Linked DNA regions of Homo sapiens: region 2 is linked to region 1. Evidence: promoter capture Hi-C in human tissues and cell types (Jung and others, 2019). All regions are on one chromosome and are shown on one strand. The core of a region is centred on a gene start or on the middle of the fragment in contact, and the rest is flanking DNA. Distances in the headings are between cores, read along the strand shown.

The links. Contacts are between HindIII fragments. The study calls those that stand out against the background at their distance.
Region 2: a contact is called between a fragment that was not itself captured here and the fragment with the promoter of ANKK1 in region 1, in 2 of the 25 tissues and cell types used here (mesenchymal stem cells and thymus).

Annotation. Positions count from the first base shown.
Region 1 is chr11:113,385,289-113,389,518 of GRCh38, forward strand. It overlaps ANKK1 (ankyrin repeat and kinase domain containing 1), which reads left to right and starts at 2,491. Exons shown (of 8, transcript NM_178510.2): 1 at 2,491-2,781. The coding sequence starts at 2,597. The HindIII fragment of the contact is 9,665 bases long and covers 1-3,559 here.
Region 2 is chr11:113,551,986-113,555,798 of GRCh38, forward strand. No RefSeq gene overlaps it. Among named protein-coding and RNA genes, the nearest start is that of DRD2, 78 kb to the left of the region's middle. RefSeq lists an enhancer at 1,730-2,231. The HindIII fragment of the contact is 3,073 bases long and covers 1,005-3,813 here.

The DNA.
Region 1 (4,230 bases), core at 1,241-3,740:
CAACCAGCCAGGACCTAGGGACTTCTGCACTCAGACCACTGGAAAGAAACCAGCAGCCTCTGAGTTGACTTTACTCTTTTGCAAATCCCTATACCTCACCCCACTTTTAATGAGAGATCCAGGAGTTCTTTGCCTCTGTGACCTTATACTCAGAAAGGGTCCCTCCACTTACAACTTCTCCCAGAGCTTATCCAAAGACTACTAGGCCTTTGCCCTAGCCCATGTTAGACAGCTGTAAGGAGCAGGACAAGCCCAGTCAAATGATCCAGTCCCTCTGGGTCAATGAATGTATCTATTTTGACTGACTCCTCAGAAGCCTCAGGGGTGCTTGAACCCACAGCAGAGAGTTTCAACAGGTGGGTCAGCAGTAATACGCCCTGACCCTGCAGTTCCTCCACCTCCACCCCTGTGAGAAATTCAGAGGTATTTTGTTCGGGATTCTGGCAACATGCCTTGAGCCCTGGGTGTCCCCTCTTCTAGGAATGATGCTTTCTTCAGTATTCCTGTGACAGTCTCTGCAGGCAGACAATGGCAGCTTCTGGTTACTTCCTCTCCCTGGAGAGCCACTTCAGGTATAAGTGGATCAAGGGGAACTGCTGAAATGACTCAGGCCATTCACCCTTGGTATTTCCTCCAGGAGCTGAGATAGGTCTCGCTGAATGTCAAAGATCGGGCCTCAGTCAAACTTCCGCAGAGCTGGGTGGCTGGTCACCTTCCCAGTCTCCATGTTCACCCTCCCAGTAGAAGGTATGAAACATCCTCTTGACCTCCTGGTCTCCCTGATGACAATGTCCTTTATCACCTTCCAAACTTCTCTGGCAGAGGCTTTAAACTTGGGCAGGCAGGGCTACTCCAGAGACAATGGGTTCTGTTATGCCCTGTCTTGCTCCAGCCAAAGCAAGCTGGGGGCCTCCCTCTGACATATGTTTGGGGGATACGTCCTGCTCCTGATGCAGTTTCCATCATCTCCACCCTCTTCCAGGGAGCATGACTCTCTCTCTTCCTTTTTTGTATTCATAAAAGGCTACTCCCTGATCCTCCCCTGGCCAACCATTTCCATAGAAACTAAGAGACTTGAGTTTGAATATCAACTACCACTTACTAGCTATGTGTCCATTGATTACTTATTGTCTTGAAGCCAGTTTCCTCATCTGTGAATAGAAGATGTTGACCTCATAACATTGTTGCAAGATAAACAGGATAATATATGTAAAGCAATGCAGTAACTGAAATAGTCACTGATCCTGGAACAAAGTGAGTGTTCAATTAGTAGTGGCTATCACTAGTTTCTATGACAACTGTCTCCAGGCCCAATCTTTGATCCTTAATCTGCTTGCCAGAATTCATCCTGGAAGTTGCAGGTAAGTTGTTACAGAGGGAGCAAGTTCTCCAGCTTCCACAGGGAGTCTCTGTTTGCCTATCATGCCTACACTGTTCCCTGGGAGTCTGGTGGGCTTGTGGCATGGACGAGGGGCTCTGCAGGTTTGGGCTGAAGGCAAGGCACTTCCTTGTCTGGTAGGTAGGCTCCTCAAACCTAACAGTGATCACTCTGAGGGCTCCTTGTGGACTTACTCAGCTGTAGGCAAATAGTGGCTGACTCTGCACTCCGTGGCCACAGTTCCTCCAGGTATGCCTGTCTCTGGGCAATGGCCCACTTGGTCAGTGCCCCTGGGGAGACCTGTCTGTTCAAGCACTTGTCATTTTCCCTGCTCTGAGGGTCTCCAAGGTGAGAGGGCAATCCCATGGACCCAGGACCCAGGGGAACCTCCAAGCTCAGCACTGGTCAGGCTCCAGCTAGAGCCTCCTCTCATCCCTGGCAACAAACTGCCCCTAGTAACTGCGCCAAGGAGGCCACCTCCCCCGTGGCCACCCCGAGGCTGGGGTCCATCCCTCTGAGGTTGGATAGAGCGCAGCCCAGGAAGGGAGTCCCCTGCAGACAGGAGCCCAGCCTCCCCCGCAACTCTGTCCCTGCTGACCCCTCCTTGGTAACCTATAGCACACCAAGGCTGGCTAACAAACAAACAAACAAAACCCCAACAAGAACAAAGGAAACATGAAACCAGTCAGACCAACAGATTCAGACCAGAAAATCCCCATTAAAATTGTTTGAGCCCCATACTTGCTGGATAGGGGCAGGGGTCCAGGCCTGAATCCTTCATAAACCATAAAACCTTGAATGCACTGAAGGAATGCATAAACCGATTTCACTTAGCGCTGGGCCTAAATAAACTGGATCCAACTTCTCAGGCTGGACTTCTTCCAGCTTCGGGACACCTTCTCCCAGCATCCCTCCCTAGGGGGAACTGGGGAAAATCAAAGGCTGAGACAGGGGAAATGCGAGGGCTTCGGAGGGACATACCCTCTTCCCCAGGCCCAGGTCGCTCCATCCCTGCTGGGGCCTCAGGGCTCATGTCTGGGATTTCCCCACCTTTGCGGGGCAGGAGCGGCTCCTCTTGGGCGGGGAAGGAGGCAGGGCCGGCTCGTCTCCCCATTCCCCTCTCCCGGACCCGAGGAGCAGGAAGCGGCGGCTCCTTCGGCCACCCAGGCAGCAGCCACAGCGGGGAGTGCGCGGCGCGGGGACAGGAAGAGAGGGGCAATGGCTGCCGACCCCACCGAGCTGCGGCTGGGCAGCCTCCCCGTCTTCACCCGCGACGACTTCGAGGGCGACTGGCGCCTAGTGGCCAGCGGCGGCTTCAGCCAGGTGTTCCAGGCGCGGCACAGGCGCTGGCGGACGGAGTACGCCATCAAGTGCGCCCCCTGCCTTCCACCCGACGCCGCCAGGTACTGCCAGCCTCGCCCTCCCCTTTCTCGGAGGAGAAACTGAGGCCCGGCAAGCTTTGGGCCCAGGGAGCTTGCGAGGAAGGAGTGGGCTGAGTTTGGGGCTGAGGACTGTCCCCCGCGGTATTTCTGAATTCCACCCAGTAGCCTGAGCCTCCCAGGCACACCCATACCTGTCTCCCTAACCAAAATAGAGTTGGCACATAATACCTGTTTGTAGACTCAACAGAGGTCAAAGGCAAGCGGGAACTACCTACCAAAGACGCCTTTATCCCATCTGACCTTCCGAACTTGTCCTGCCTGCTTCCATCCTTCTCTCCAGCGCCTTCTTCCCCCGGTGTCCTGTGGCAATAACTGCTCTTGACCGCTCTCTGCCATCCTCCTACCCACCCCAGCTCTCAGGGCAGGGCTGAGCATCCTGGGAGGCTGTGGCACTTTGCTCAGATCTGCAGGGAATCATGTTCTCTCTTCCCACGGTGGCGGGAGGGAGGAGGCCCCTCCCAATCAGTGCAGGCTGAGGAGGTCAGGGGATGGAGACTGCCCGGCCTGATGGCCTGTCCAGGCCCTTGGAGGGTCAAGTCTGGAGTTCTCTCATCTCTGTTTTTGTTTTTGTCCCTTGCTGTCATGCGCACTACAGCGACGCCTTGACATGCCCCTATTTTTCTCTTCCTACCTCTTTCCTACGTTTCCATTATTCTCTGTCTTCCCACTGATTTGGAATCCAGTCTCATTCCCACTGGAGTTGCATATACTAGCTGTGTGCTTGCACCTTGCAGCCATGAAGAAGACACTCGGGATGTTAAACCTGAGCATGATAACCATGTCCTCCTCCCAAGGCTCTGGGACATCAATTAGAGAGTCCGGGACGGGGGTCTCTCTGACTGGCATCTGGCTTGGATGCTATCTGTGGTTCTCTAGGATTACCATGCAAACTCTTAAGATACAGCCTCAGGTGCCACACACTCAGTTCCCAGGCCTTCCCCCACCTTATGAGGAGAGGAAAAATAAGATCGCCTAAGGCCCACTCACCTTCCTCCCTCAACATCTGCCTGTTGGTTTTGGAGGAGGGTCAGAGTATGCTAGGATTTGTCTAAATCATTTATAGCCTTTTGAATATAGAACGAAAGGAAACAGATGGCAGTGACATGATTACACTGTGAGACATTGATGCTAACTCCTGCCACTTTCCCTTCCCAAGTTCTGGGAATTCCCTGGGTGGAGGGGGTAAGATAATTAATGGTAATTAAGACTTAGTATGTATGGATTACTATACTAGGAGCTTTACGTGCATTACTTTACTAGATCCTCTTTCCAGCTATTCATTCATTCATCCACTTGACAAATGCTTACTGCTCTTCTACTATGTGTCAGGCACTGTTCTACACCCTGGGATTAACGATGAATGCAACAGATGTGTCCTTTCTCTCCGGGAGATTGCAGCCTAGGGGGAGG
Region 2 (3,813 bases), core at 1,291-3,790, 170 kb after region 1:
TTAAGGCAATTCCATCCTAGAATTGAAATTTCTGGTGGCAGAAAAAAAAGTTAAAGCAAATCTCAAGGTGACAGCAATTATAGTATTTAGAGTTTAAGTCCTTTTTGGAAGAAGGCTGGAAAGTAATGGAGCAATGAATGAACCATTAGTGTAAAATTCAAAACCAAACAAAGTCAATTCATGGCCTAGTACAAAACTTCAAAGAAGTTCCAGAAAATCAATTAGCTGTTGGTTATTACACAGAGCAGTAAACCTCATGTGAGTATTTCAGAGACAATTAAAAGTATCAGGAGTATAAACAACTCAGAGTTCAACCAGACCAAGAATTAGCAAACTTTTCTGCAAAGGGGCAGGTAGTAGATATTTTAGGCTTTCAAGCTATATCATCTCCACAACTACTCAACCCTGCAGTTGGGGTGCAAAAGCAGCTGCAGCAATATGTAACCAAGTGAGCATGGCTGTGTTTCAATAAAACTTTATACACAAAAACAGGTGGTGGGCCAGATTCCACCCATGGGCTGTGTATAGTTTGCCGACTGCTGATCTAGAACAATGTGCTTCTGTGACAAATGAAGTAACAAAGACATGGACAGATGAAATGACTGTCGCAGCCAGTTATGAAAGAGAGAAAAGAGAAAGTCATTTAACATTCATTCAACAAAGCTTTATTAAGCATGTATTAGATCCAGGCTATTCTAAACACAGGAGAGGCAATGATAAAAGAAAGAAAGAAAGAAAAAGAGGTTTTCTGGGTGAGATTCCTGAGACTTCACATTCCAGCAAGGGCAGCAGGCAGTAAAACAAAACAAATAAATAAATAAACATAAATGAATGAGAGGCCAGGTGCATTGGCTCATGCCTATAATCCCAGCACTTTGAAAGGCTGAAGCAGGCAGATAGCTTGAGTCCAGGAGTTCGAGACCAGCCTGGGCAGCATGGCAAAACTCTGCCTCTACAAAAAAATACAAAAATTAGCCTGGCATGGTGGCACGTGCCTGTAGTCCCAGCTACTTGGGATGCTGAAGCAAGAGGATCATTTAAGCCTGGGATGCAGAGGTTGCAGTGAGCTGAGATCCTGCCATTGCACTCCAGCTTGGGTGACAGAGCAAGACCCTGTCTCAAAAAACATAAAAAAATAAAATAAGCAAATGAATAAGATACCATCAGGCAGCAATAGTGCTATGACTATAATGAAAACGAAATGTGGCAGGAGGCGGTTTTGGGCATGGGGGTGGGGTAGCAATTAAATCGGTTGTCAAGGAAGAATGGAGCCCAAACATAAATGACAAAAAGTTGCCATCCATGGAGAGATCACATCTAGTAAGCTCATGGCACGTGCACTCAAGCTTCCCAGGCTGTTTCTTGCAGATGTGGAAACCGAAGCTACAAGAGCAGCAGGATTGGTGTGGTCCGGAAGGATTCCTGTGGTGTGGCATGGTCCGGGAGGATTCCCAAGTCAGTTCTCTCTGGCTCCAAAGCTTAGACTCTTTCTTTCACACCCGCACATTCCAGTCGTTTCACAGAAGGATGACTCAGAAATTCCCTCAGAAATTTAAAACACCGTCTTAGTCTGAAGTGTTTGGTTTGGGGCTGGAACACATACTAAAATTTTGACTAGATATTACAGCATCAAAAACTGCTCTGATGACCAGATGACTGAAATTATTAAATTTTGCACTTTAAAGAATGAACTAGTCTTTTTTCTTAAAATATTTCATATTTTATTTCTAAAGGAGATAAAAGAGAAGCTTTCAGCCTGCTACTTTCAAGCATCTCATCTGCAGACAAAATCTTCATGCATAATATTTATTCCCAATAAATGAAAAACCAAAATGAAATGCACTTTTTCTGTTTTAATATTGGTTTTTGAAGTACTAGAGACACGTTGATATGCTATATGAGAATTTTGAGTAGCTACATGCAGCTTGCTGATTTGTTCAAGGTGATTGTGAGGCAAACAATTCTCATTGTCTTTTTTTAATTTCAATGTGAGTGTTCCTTATACTTCCTCTCTTCAACCAGTGATCCATTAGGAGTAAAAATTAAACAAAATATGACTAATCATAGGAACAGTTCCACCCACTGGGGGGCGTTCACACCCACCAGAGCATGGAGTGGTGTTTAGCTGAAGGACAGACCCCTACATATGCTCACTCCATATGCACCTGCAGCAACCCAACTGTTCCTTTTAGAGGGAAGAGAATATTTAAATAAGCATTCTGTTCATTGACTGTTATGAGCTAGGAGACAGGGACTTTAAATGTCTTTAATGAGAAGGCCCAACCCTATTGCTCAGGCCCAGGCCCAGCTGGCGGTGAGTGAGGCTTAGAGGATGAAAAATATAAAGAGGCACCACTCTCAGGGCTGACCCCACACAGGAGCAATTCTGAGAGTGGGTGCTGCCTTAAGATATAGGAGTTAAAAACAAATTATTTAGGCAGATAGTGAGGGTAAGGAAGTCCTCACTAAGGTTTTCCTTTTAATGAAAAGCAGCCCCAAAATCATTTTCTTTTCTAACAAAGAGCAGCCTGTAAAATCGAGCTGCAGACATAGAAAGGGAAGCTGGAAGTTTGCACGGGTGAATGCCGGCAGTTATGTCAATAGAAATAGGCTACCTGGGACTAGGCATGATCAAAATTTGGCTCCATCTTCCTGTCTCTTTGCCAGCCACATGTACAATAAGGAGCAGGCAAGATCCTGGCCAAGTGGAAAGCCCATTTGCATAATAAGATCAGGGTGGGGCTACCAGCCTTTCACTTCGTGCTATGTATATGTCACACCTTGTGGAACTAATCTGTGGGCCCTATGTAAATCAGACACCACCTGCTCAAGCCTGCCTATAAAATCTGCTGTGGTATGCCTCAGGCCAGTTTTTCCCTTTCAGATGCCCAGATGTCCATCTCTCTCCTTTCTTCTGCCTATTAGACTTTCTGCTCCTTAACCCATCCATGTGTGTCCGTGTCCCTAATCTTCTTGGCGCCAAATGACGAACCCCAGGTATTTACCCCAGACAATGATGCTGCTTCACTTATGTTTTGTACCCTACTCACCTCCCCCAGGGCCTGGTCCCATCCCCCTACACCTCCCCACACCACCCCCCACCCCCAACACACACACAAACTGCAACTCAATCTTTCCATAAGTCAGTGGTTAGAAATAAAACAGCTGCTTGCTCCTAAAACCTCCCAAACCAGAGCTGCATTGAACTTGCTGGGCCTGTGATGGGGGTTTGTGCACTGGGTGCTGGTGCTCTTGGCTTGTGTTGGCTCATGTTAGTCACCACCACCTGTGTCTCTCTGATGTTGGGTTTTACTGTATCCTTATGATAACTTGGGTGTTAACAAAAAAGTTTTCTTTTTTTTTTTTTTTCCAAGAAATTCTCTTTTATCTTGCAGAAAGAAAAGCACTTTAGGAGGAAAACTCAAAACAACAGACGTCACTGATGGTTGAGACTCCCCTACAACTGAAACCAGTTTTTAAATGATGGCTCTCTTAAGCCAGAAGGAATTCCCAGAGGCCCTCAGGTCCAGCCTCCAGCATCCAGCTAATTGTAGCTCAGCAGCTGCATCTCGGGCTGGGCAGCAGGGAGCTGCTGCTTCCTCCTTGCAGTATACTGGGAAGTCTGTGTCACTGCAGAATGCAGGAAATAATATTTACCTTATACATTTGACAGGTTGTTAGGAAGACCTGAATAAAGTAATCTACATTGTACTACTTGAGCGCTATAAAATGAAAGAAGTTACTTAAAATCTCTAGGAGTAGGCGGGCGCAGTGGCTCATGCCTGTAATCCCAGCACTTTGGGAGGCCAACGC